2 separate regions of the Homo sapiens genome follow, and region 1 is linked to region 2. The links are contacts of gene promoters, found by promoter capture Hi-C in human tissues and cell types (Jung and others, 2019). All regions are on one chromosome and are shown on one strand. The core of a region is centred on a gene start or on the middle of the fragment in contact, and the rest is flanking DNA. Distances in the headings are between cores, read along the strand shown.

Region 1 (4,204 bases), core at 568-3,067, 150 kb before region 2:
CACCCTGCACAGACAAGCACTTTTTAAAATTTCTATTCACATATATTAGTTTTACATGTTCTTGAACTTTATATTTAAAGAACCATACACTTTTTATTGTTCCATGTTTGTCTTATTTCAATCAACTAAAATTTTTAAATTCGTTTACAATGTGGTATATGTCAGTAGTCTATTTTTTACTGCTGAGTATGAATAAATTACAATTTGGTGCTCCATTTTCTTATTGATGAACATTCGAGTTGTTTCCAACTTGGAACTATTATGAATAAAGCTTCTATAAATATTCCTGTACAGGAAAGTGGATTTTTTTTTTTTTTACATTTCCCTTGGGTAAATGCCTCAAAAGATACTTGCTGGATCATAGGGTGAGTATTTTCCAATGTGGCTGTATCCATTTAAACCTATATGAGTAAGGCATGTTCTAGGGACTCTACATTCTCACCAAAATTTGGTGTTGTCAGTCTTTTTAATTTTAGCCATGAGTATGAAGTGATATCTCATTTAATTTACTTTTTTTTTTTTTTTGAGATGGAGTCTCACTCTATCACCAGGCTGGAGTGCAGTGGCGCAATCTCGGCTCACTGCAACCTCCGCCTCCCAGGTTCAAGTGATTCTCCTGCCTTAGCCTCCTGAGTAGCTGGGACTACAGGTGTGCGCCACCACACCTAACTGATTGTTGTATTTTCAGTAGAGACAGGGTTTCACCATGTTGGCCAGGATGGTCTCAATCTCTTGACCACATGATCTGCCCGCCTTGGCCTCCCAAAGTGCTGGGATTACAGGCATGAGCCACCGTGCGTGGCCACATTTCTTTTATGACTTAAGACATAGAACAAACTTCCATTTGTTTATTGACTGTTCCTTTGTCTTCCTTGTAAAATGCGTATTCAAGTCTTTTGCATGTTTTTTATCGTTACTATAAAGTTGTAGTCGTTCTTTCTATATTCTGGATATATTGCAACTCTCCTGGAGATCACAAAAGAATTAAAAACCTACCACACTTTTGGATAGGAAGACTTGCCATAATACTGCCGTCATTTTATCTAAGTTAATTCATATATTTTACCCTAAGTTAATGTATACTTTTAACAAGATCCCAGAATCATATTCATTTCAATTTATGGCAATGGCTATTCCTCCTGGATATTCAGGGCCTGTAGACTTCCCCAGCTCTGGGCTGTTTGCACCTGTTCAGGACAGCAAGGCCACTGGAAACCTAGGGTTTGATGTTGTCAGTCTTTTTAATTTTAGACATAGGTATAAAGTAATATTTCATCGTGGTTTTAATTTACATTTCTTTTATGACTTAAGACATAGAACAAATTTCCATGTGTTTATTGGCTATTCCTTTATCTTCCTTGTAAAATGCCTGTTCAAGTCTTTTACATATTTTTAATTGGCACTATAAAGTTGGAGCCATTCGTTATGTATTCTGGATATAAAGAACTCCTACAGCATTGGCTCAGTGGACTGAGCTTCTCCTTTCTCCTTTCTGATGGTTTCACAAATTCCACTTAGCCTGTCCTGAGCTGGGTCCCCAAAAGAGCATCTAGAATCTACAGTAACAGAAAGCTACTCTACAAATTATTTAAAATAATGTCCAATGTTTAGTGCTATTCATCAATAGCATCGTATTTGATATTTTATTTGAACTCCACAATTCCATTAAATAAAGGGTCAGGCTTTATAGATTTGTTTTATTTATGACAGCCTGTAGCACTTCACTTTCCAGACTTGTTTGGAAATGGCCAGATGATACCGAAAACCACCTGGCATTTCTCCTCAACTCTGGCAGACAATACCTCAACATGTGAAGCCAATTCTTGACCCACAGATTCAAGCAGCATTCAGCTGTCCCCAATCTTTAACCATGTTTCCATGAGAAAAATGATTGATGAAGATGAAACTAAACTCTTGCTGCAATTTCTCGGGAACCTCTAAATCCTAGGCAGACTTGGTTTCCCCTTTGTGTATCCCAGAAACTTAGGAAACATGAGCTCTATGATGGCTTATCTGCTATGTTCAATACCAATGCATCCCAATGACTAAAGAGTACCTGGCACATATCAGGAGCTGAGAGATACTTGTTCAGTGGGTGAGTAAATGAAAACCACTGCTACAGCATTTTTCACATATGATTCCAACCATTGTAGTTCCTTTGTCAGATTTTACAGTAGAAAAACAACAGTCTTCAAATTTCTTTGACATGTGTTTCCACCAGGCCTGAGAAGAGAACAAGTGCTCTCTATGCTAGAAGACTGACCTGGGCACTAAAGGATTCTGCTGAAGATAGGAAGGGTCAGGATTGATCAATTCAAATAAGGCACAAAGACGGTCTTTGTGAAGGGTGGCCTGATAAAAGATACATGAGTCAAATGAACAGCACCCTTTATCTCCTCCCCTCTCTGGTCATACTCATGCCTTAGTTCTTCACGTCTACTCAGGCTCAGGGCCCCTATTGCTGATGCTTCTGTTATGGTACTTCTACCCAGCTGCATGTTTGGATACAGGTTGCAGGTGCCTAGGGAGTACTGTGCATCTACAGCACAGAAATAGGTGGCTGAATCTTCAGGCTGCACGGCTGTAATGTACAAGCTGCTTCCATTCTTCAGTAATGTAGCATTTAGTCTTCCTTTCTGCTTCTCATATCCAGCTGAATACATGGATAATAGGTGTTTGGGACCCATCCCTGTATTTTGCCTGTACCACTGCAAATTGTTAAAACGACTGACAGAGTACGTGCAGCTCATGGAGGCAACGTCTCCCTGCTGGGGTCCCAGAAAATGAGGGCTGTGCTCCACCTGGTTTTCTCCATTTGCCCCTATTCAGAAAGACATCAGGTACAATATGTACATTTTAATTTAGACCTTTCATAATTTTATTTCTTAATCTCAAACAAGCAATGACAAGTAAGTCCAGACTACATCCCCATCTCCCCAAAAGGACTTGAATAAATGTCTCCTGGGGTCCCCAGTTCTTAGAACCCTCAACTTACAGCCAAGACATAGACAAAATATAATTAGGACAGGTCTCCGCATCTTCTCCATCCTGATACTTTGTCTTGATACCAAAAATGCTGCATAAAATTATGTAGCCAAACAAAGCTTTTATTGTTTGTTTCTTTTAATCTAATAAATGAAACAGCCTGTCTGTCTGTCAACCAATCAGCAATATGCTCTTCTAACGTAAACATACTTCCTAGGTATAAGAAAGACATAGTTTACAAATGAAAGAGAACCCCTGTCACCTTGTGGCTATAAGCAAAATTATTAAAGAAATGTTAACGCTGTGCACATCTGCTAACACCACGTGCAAAAATTCCTCCAACTTCTAAATTGGAGGAATTGTTCTTATTTTATAAGCCTCTATAATGTGATCATCATGACTTTCTCCTGTGTTTTTCTTTTACTAATCTGTTCATTGAGGCCTGATCTATCTCAGAGCAAAACTATCACCAGTGATTATGGAGCAGATGGGCAAAACAGAAGAACTGGATATATGTTCTCTTCAAAATGCAACAATCTCAACTGATAAAGCCAAGGAAAGCTAACATAGGTACACGGAGGTTCCAAATAACACACAGTGGCCAGACGTGGTGGCTCACGCCTGTAATCCCAGCACTTTGGGAGGCCGAGGCAGGTGGATCATGAGGTCAGAAGTTCAAGACAAGCCAGGCCAACATAGCGAAACCCCGTCTCTACTAAAAATACAACACTTAGCTGGGTATGGCAGCATGCACCTGTAGTCCCAGCTACTCAGGAGGCTGAGGCAGGAGAATTGCTTGAACCCGGGAGGCGAAGGTTGCAGTAAGCTGAGATCGTGCCACTGCACTCCATCCTGGATGACAGAGCGAAACTCCATCTTAAAAAAAAAAAAAAAAGAAAAAGAAAATAACACACAATGCAAGGCCTCCCGTAGCCATATCAAAGTGAATGTTAGGAATACGTATTTGGAAATGTACTCTAGAAAGCAATACAACTTTTCTGTAGGATTGTCACAGGACACTTAGGGTGTCACTTTTCCAGCTCGAAACCTCTGTGTCCAGTGGCATCTTTGCCCAAGTTTTGCTTGGGCCCACTGGGCTCGTTCCACCTACTCAGCCCAGCAGGCTACATTCAGCTCATGCTACTGGCCCAGATACCACAGCTGCCAAGGGTAAGCCAGGCACGGAGTGGAAAGGGGTATGTGAGTTAGTGAAGGGTCC
Region 2 (4,331 bases), core at 72-2,571:
CTATTGTCATTTTAATTGCTTTATGAAAGTAGTCATTTGCATTACAAAGATATTTTGTAGTTAAATGAAAGATAAATGCATCTCAAACCATATATAGAGCGAAAAGTCTTTATCAAGCAACCTATTTAACAAAAAGAGTGAAACAAACACATTCCATCCCTCTATTTTATCATCTTGTTCAGATACTTGAAAATCTGTAAATGTCTTTAGAGAGAGTTGCTGTTTGATAGACTGCAATACATAGATATTACACACAAGCACACTAAAGATCAAGTCCTGCATTAATCAATGATTTTATAACAAACAATAAAAATTCCTCTGTGACCTCATACCAAAAAAAAAACCCAATCCCAAACCAATGAACCATATAAATCAACAAATAAATCTAAATGATATCCTGGAGCAAAAACAGGCATAAATGTTTCTTGGAGTTTTTTATAATGAAATTATACCCATATTACATGGTGAATGAGGTGGTCCCTTGACCTAAAAGTCCCAGCCATGTGAGCACAGGGGTCAGACAAAAAAGATCAAGAGAAACAATGTATTCAGTCAGGGGGATTTGGCAACATCCATTCTATCTATCTCAGTCATTCAGAAAATAATTACGGTATTTATCACTTTTAGCATGCTAGACGGGATGATTATTAAGAGAGAAAAACAGAAATTAGACAATGCAACATAATGTACGTGCTCAGAAAAGTATAAGCATTGTCCTCAGGGATCCGGAAAGCCTTCTTGAAGGTGAAGACACTCAAACTGAATCCTGAAGGAAAAGTGGGCACTACCTATGTGAAGGGAGCAGAAAAGATAGTGTGTGCGTAAGTCCCAAGTTAGAGCACACTACTGTGAGAAGCTTGAAGAGTGTCATGCCTCCCAACAATAAGAAGGAATTACAAGTGGTACAATAGCGATATAAATAAGGGCCAGATGAGGAATATTTTTGCATGATATGTTAAGGAGATGAGATTTTAGCTGAGGAAAAAGGGGACAATGATAGTAGGTGAAGAAAAAGTAGATGTGGTCATTATAGGGTGTTTGTTCCACACTGCTCTGCATCAACTTTAGCCCCTCCTTGGCGAACTCACTTTTTGGTTGGAATTTTCGGTACTTCTCTATCACTCTCATGTGTCCCTCTTCCTTCATCTGGCAAATCCTGGCTTTCAGTATCTCTCAATGGACAAGAGTTTCCTCCCATCTAGGAAACTAACCAGCCTCTGGAGGACTTCTCCTTTTAAGTAAACCTAAATAACTAATGGTGACACCACCTCCTCTTTTAAAAAACAATTTGACTCTATCTTGTTTATCTCATAATTCCTAGGCATCAATCATCCGACAAAAGCATTCACTTACAACATCATTGTGCTGTGTTTCTCTTGTCAAACGTCACCATTCATCTTAGCAGACTACAAAAAGACATGGGAAAGACCAAAAACACATCGCTGGATGCCGTGGTGACAGATTTCATTCTTCTGGGTTTGTCTCACCCCCCAAATCTAAGAAGCCTCCTCTTCCTGGTCTTCTTCATCATTTACATCCTCACTCAGCTGGGGAACCTGCTCATTCTGCTCACCATGTGGGCTGACCCGAAGCTCTGTGCTCGCCCCATGTACATTCTTCTGGGAGTGCTCTCATTCCTGGACATGTGGCTCTCCTCAGTCACCGTTCCTCTGCTTATTTTGGATTTTACTCCTTCCATCAAGGCTATCCCGTTTGGTGGCTGTGTGGCTCAACTGTATTTCTTTCACTTCCTGGGCAGCACCCAGTGCTTCCTCTACACCTTGATGGCCTATGACAGGTACCTGGCAATATGTCAGCCCCTGCGCTACCCAGTGCTCATGAATGGGAGGTTATGCACAGTCCTTGTGGCTGGAGCTTGGGTCGCCGGCTCCATGCATGGGTCTATCCAGGCCACCTTGACCTTCCGCCTGCCCTACTGTGGGCCCAATCAGGTGGATTACTTTATCTGTGACATCCCCGCAGTATTGAGACTGGCCTGTGCTGACACAACTGTCAATGAGCTTGTGACCTTTGTGGACGTCGGGGTAGTGGCCGCCAGTTGCTTCATGTTAATTCTGCTCTCGTATGCCAACATAGTAAATGCCATCCTGAAGATACGCACCACTGATGGGAGGCGCCGGGCCTTCTCCACCTGTGGCTCCCACCTAATCGTGGTCACAGTCTACTATGTCCCCTGTATTTTCATCTACCTTAGGGCTGGCTCCAAAGACCCCCTGGATGGGGCAGCGGCTGTGTTTTACACTGTTGTCACTCCATTACTGAACCCCCTCATCTATACACTGAGGAACCAGGAAGTGAAGTCTGCCCTGAAGAGGATAACAGCAGGTTGAAGGACTGAATGAAAATAAGTAACTACATCTGCATCATTATCACTGCCACTCTCTTCAGCTACTGCTGCATGTGACAAATGCCCAATAAACTGCTAAGGATTTAAAGTGAATTTATTTTCATTTTCTTTGGCAGAAAATTCTGAATTATTTCGACCCAAAATCTTTTCCCCTAATTAAACTGGTTCAGGTTGTTTTACATAATCTTTTAGAAATAAATGGATACATTATTTCTATCACCTCTATCTTGTGAGATGAGAAAATGCCTTACCAAAGGTTGAATAAGATGAGAATGTGTCAATGTCTTAGAAAGTATATCATGCCAGAAAATTTGAAAAGAGTAAAAAGGGGGCTCCATAACCCCTTGTTTCATTGTCTTTGCTCCTAATCCTAGACCCCTCTAAATTCCATTTCTTTGCTTGTGCATGGCATGAATATTTCCAAGCACTTGAACTTGAAAATTCTGGATTATTTGTGTTTTCTTCCTGTCCCTCGCCCTCGTGATGTGCTAACACATCAGATTCTGTCTCCTCAAAACTATGAAACCAGCTCAAACTGATTCAGTGTAGACTGTCTCTCTTAATTCTTGACTAGTTCTTCCTCATCTAGACCACAATCAAAATTACCCTCTGAAACACAGAATCTGTAGGACTCTTCGGCGAAGGTAGAATGAATAAGGCCAGGCTCCTTAATCTGGAATTCAAAATCCAATGCAATCTTGGCTTCACATACATGTTCTCTTAAGCCATTTCCTCTGCTTCCCTCTCCCACCCTCACTGATTTATTGCCGTTCCGTGAGCATGCTCTATACTTGCCTGTACTCTTTTGCTCAAGCTCTCTTCTCTGCCTGGAATATAAGTCCTCCCTCTCCATATTGACCAAGTGACAATTTATGCTTCCTTCAGATCCATATTAAATACTTCCTCATCTGTTTTTCCCAGGCAGGACTTAACTCCTCTTCCCTGGTATTGCCATGGCTTCTTTAGTATAGACCTTGCCCCAGTCTGTCACGTATTACAGTCAAGAATTTATCTCCTACCGGGCGCAGTGGCTCACGCCTGTAATCCCAGCACTTTGAGAGGCCGAGGTGGGCAGATCACGAAGTCAGGAGTTCAAGACCAGCCTGGCCAACATAGTGAAACCCCCATCTCTACTAAAAATATAAAAAGTTAGCCAGGCATAGTGGCATGCACCTGTAATCCCAACTACTTGGGAGGCTGAGGCAGGATAATTGCTTGAACCCAGGAGGTAGAGGTTGCAGTGAGCGGAGATTGCACCACTGCACTCCAGCCTAGGTGACAGTACCAGACTTCATCTAAAAAAAAAAAAAAAAAAAAGTCTAAAAAAAAAAGGAATTTATCTCTCTTTCCACTTCAAATGGATTGTGAGCCCTCAAAGGACATAAAGCATTCATTTGTGTTTGTCTGCCTCTATTGCCTAATAACTACGAGCAGACACAGAAATCAATATTTGCTGCTGAATTTTTTTTTTTTTTTTTTTTTTGAGATGGAGTGTCGCCCTGCCGCCCAGGCTGGAGTGCCGTGGCGCGATCTCGGCTCACTGCAAGCTCCGCCTCCCGGGTTCACGCCATTCTCCTGCCTCAGCCTCCCGAGTAGCTGGGACTACAGGCACCCGCCACCACGCCCGGCTAATTTTTTGTATTTTTAGTAGAGATGGGGTTTCACCGTTTTAGCCAGGATGGTCTCGATCTCCTGACCTCGTGATCCACCCGCCTCCATCTCCCAAAGTACTGGGATTACAGGCGTGAGCCACCGCGCCCGGCCATTTGTTGCTGAATTTAAACCGCACTGCAAAAGTCTCTTGAAATGTATCTTAAACTGAAGAAATTATTGTCAGTTCTGCCGATTACCTGTCCTGGTCTCACCTGAAAAAAGAAAAAAAAAAGAGAACATTTAAGGGAAACTGAAGACAGAAGATTCAACTACATGGCAACCTAAAAGCAAGCATGGACAGTTCCTTGGT

Evidence for each region. Contacts are between HindIII fragments. The study calls those that stand out against the background at their distance.
Region 1: a contact is called between a fragment that was not itself captured here and the fragment with the promoter of OR10G2 in region 2, in 2 of the 25 tissues and cell types used here (aorta and hippocampus).

What each region holds. Positions count from the first base shown.
Region 1 is chr14:21,781,836-21,786,039 of GRCh38, reverse strand. It overlaps TRA and TRAV7. Among named protein-coding and RNA genes, the nearest start is that of OR4E1, 110 kb to the right of the region's middle. The HindIII fragment of the contact is 3,829 bases long and covers 1-3,731 here.
Region 2 is chr14:21,631,930-21,636,260 of GRCh38, reverse strand. It overlaps OR10G2 (olfactory receptor family 10 subfamily G member 2), which reads left to right and starts at 1,321. Exons shown (of 1, transcript NM_001005466.2): 1 at 1,321-2,425. The coding sequence starts at 1,419. The coding sequence ends at 2,351. It also overlaps TRA. The HindIII fragment of the contact is 10,781 bases long and covers 1-4,331 here.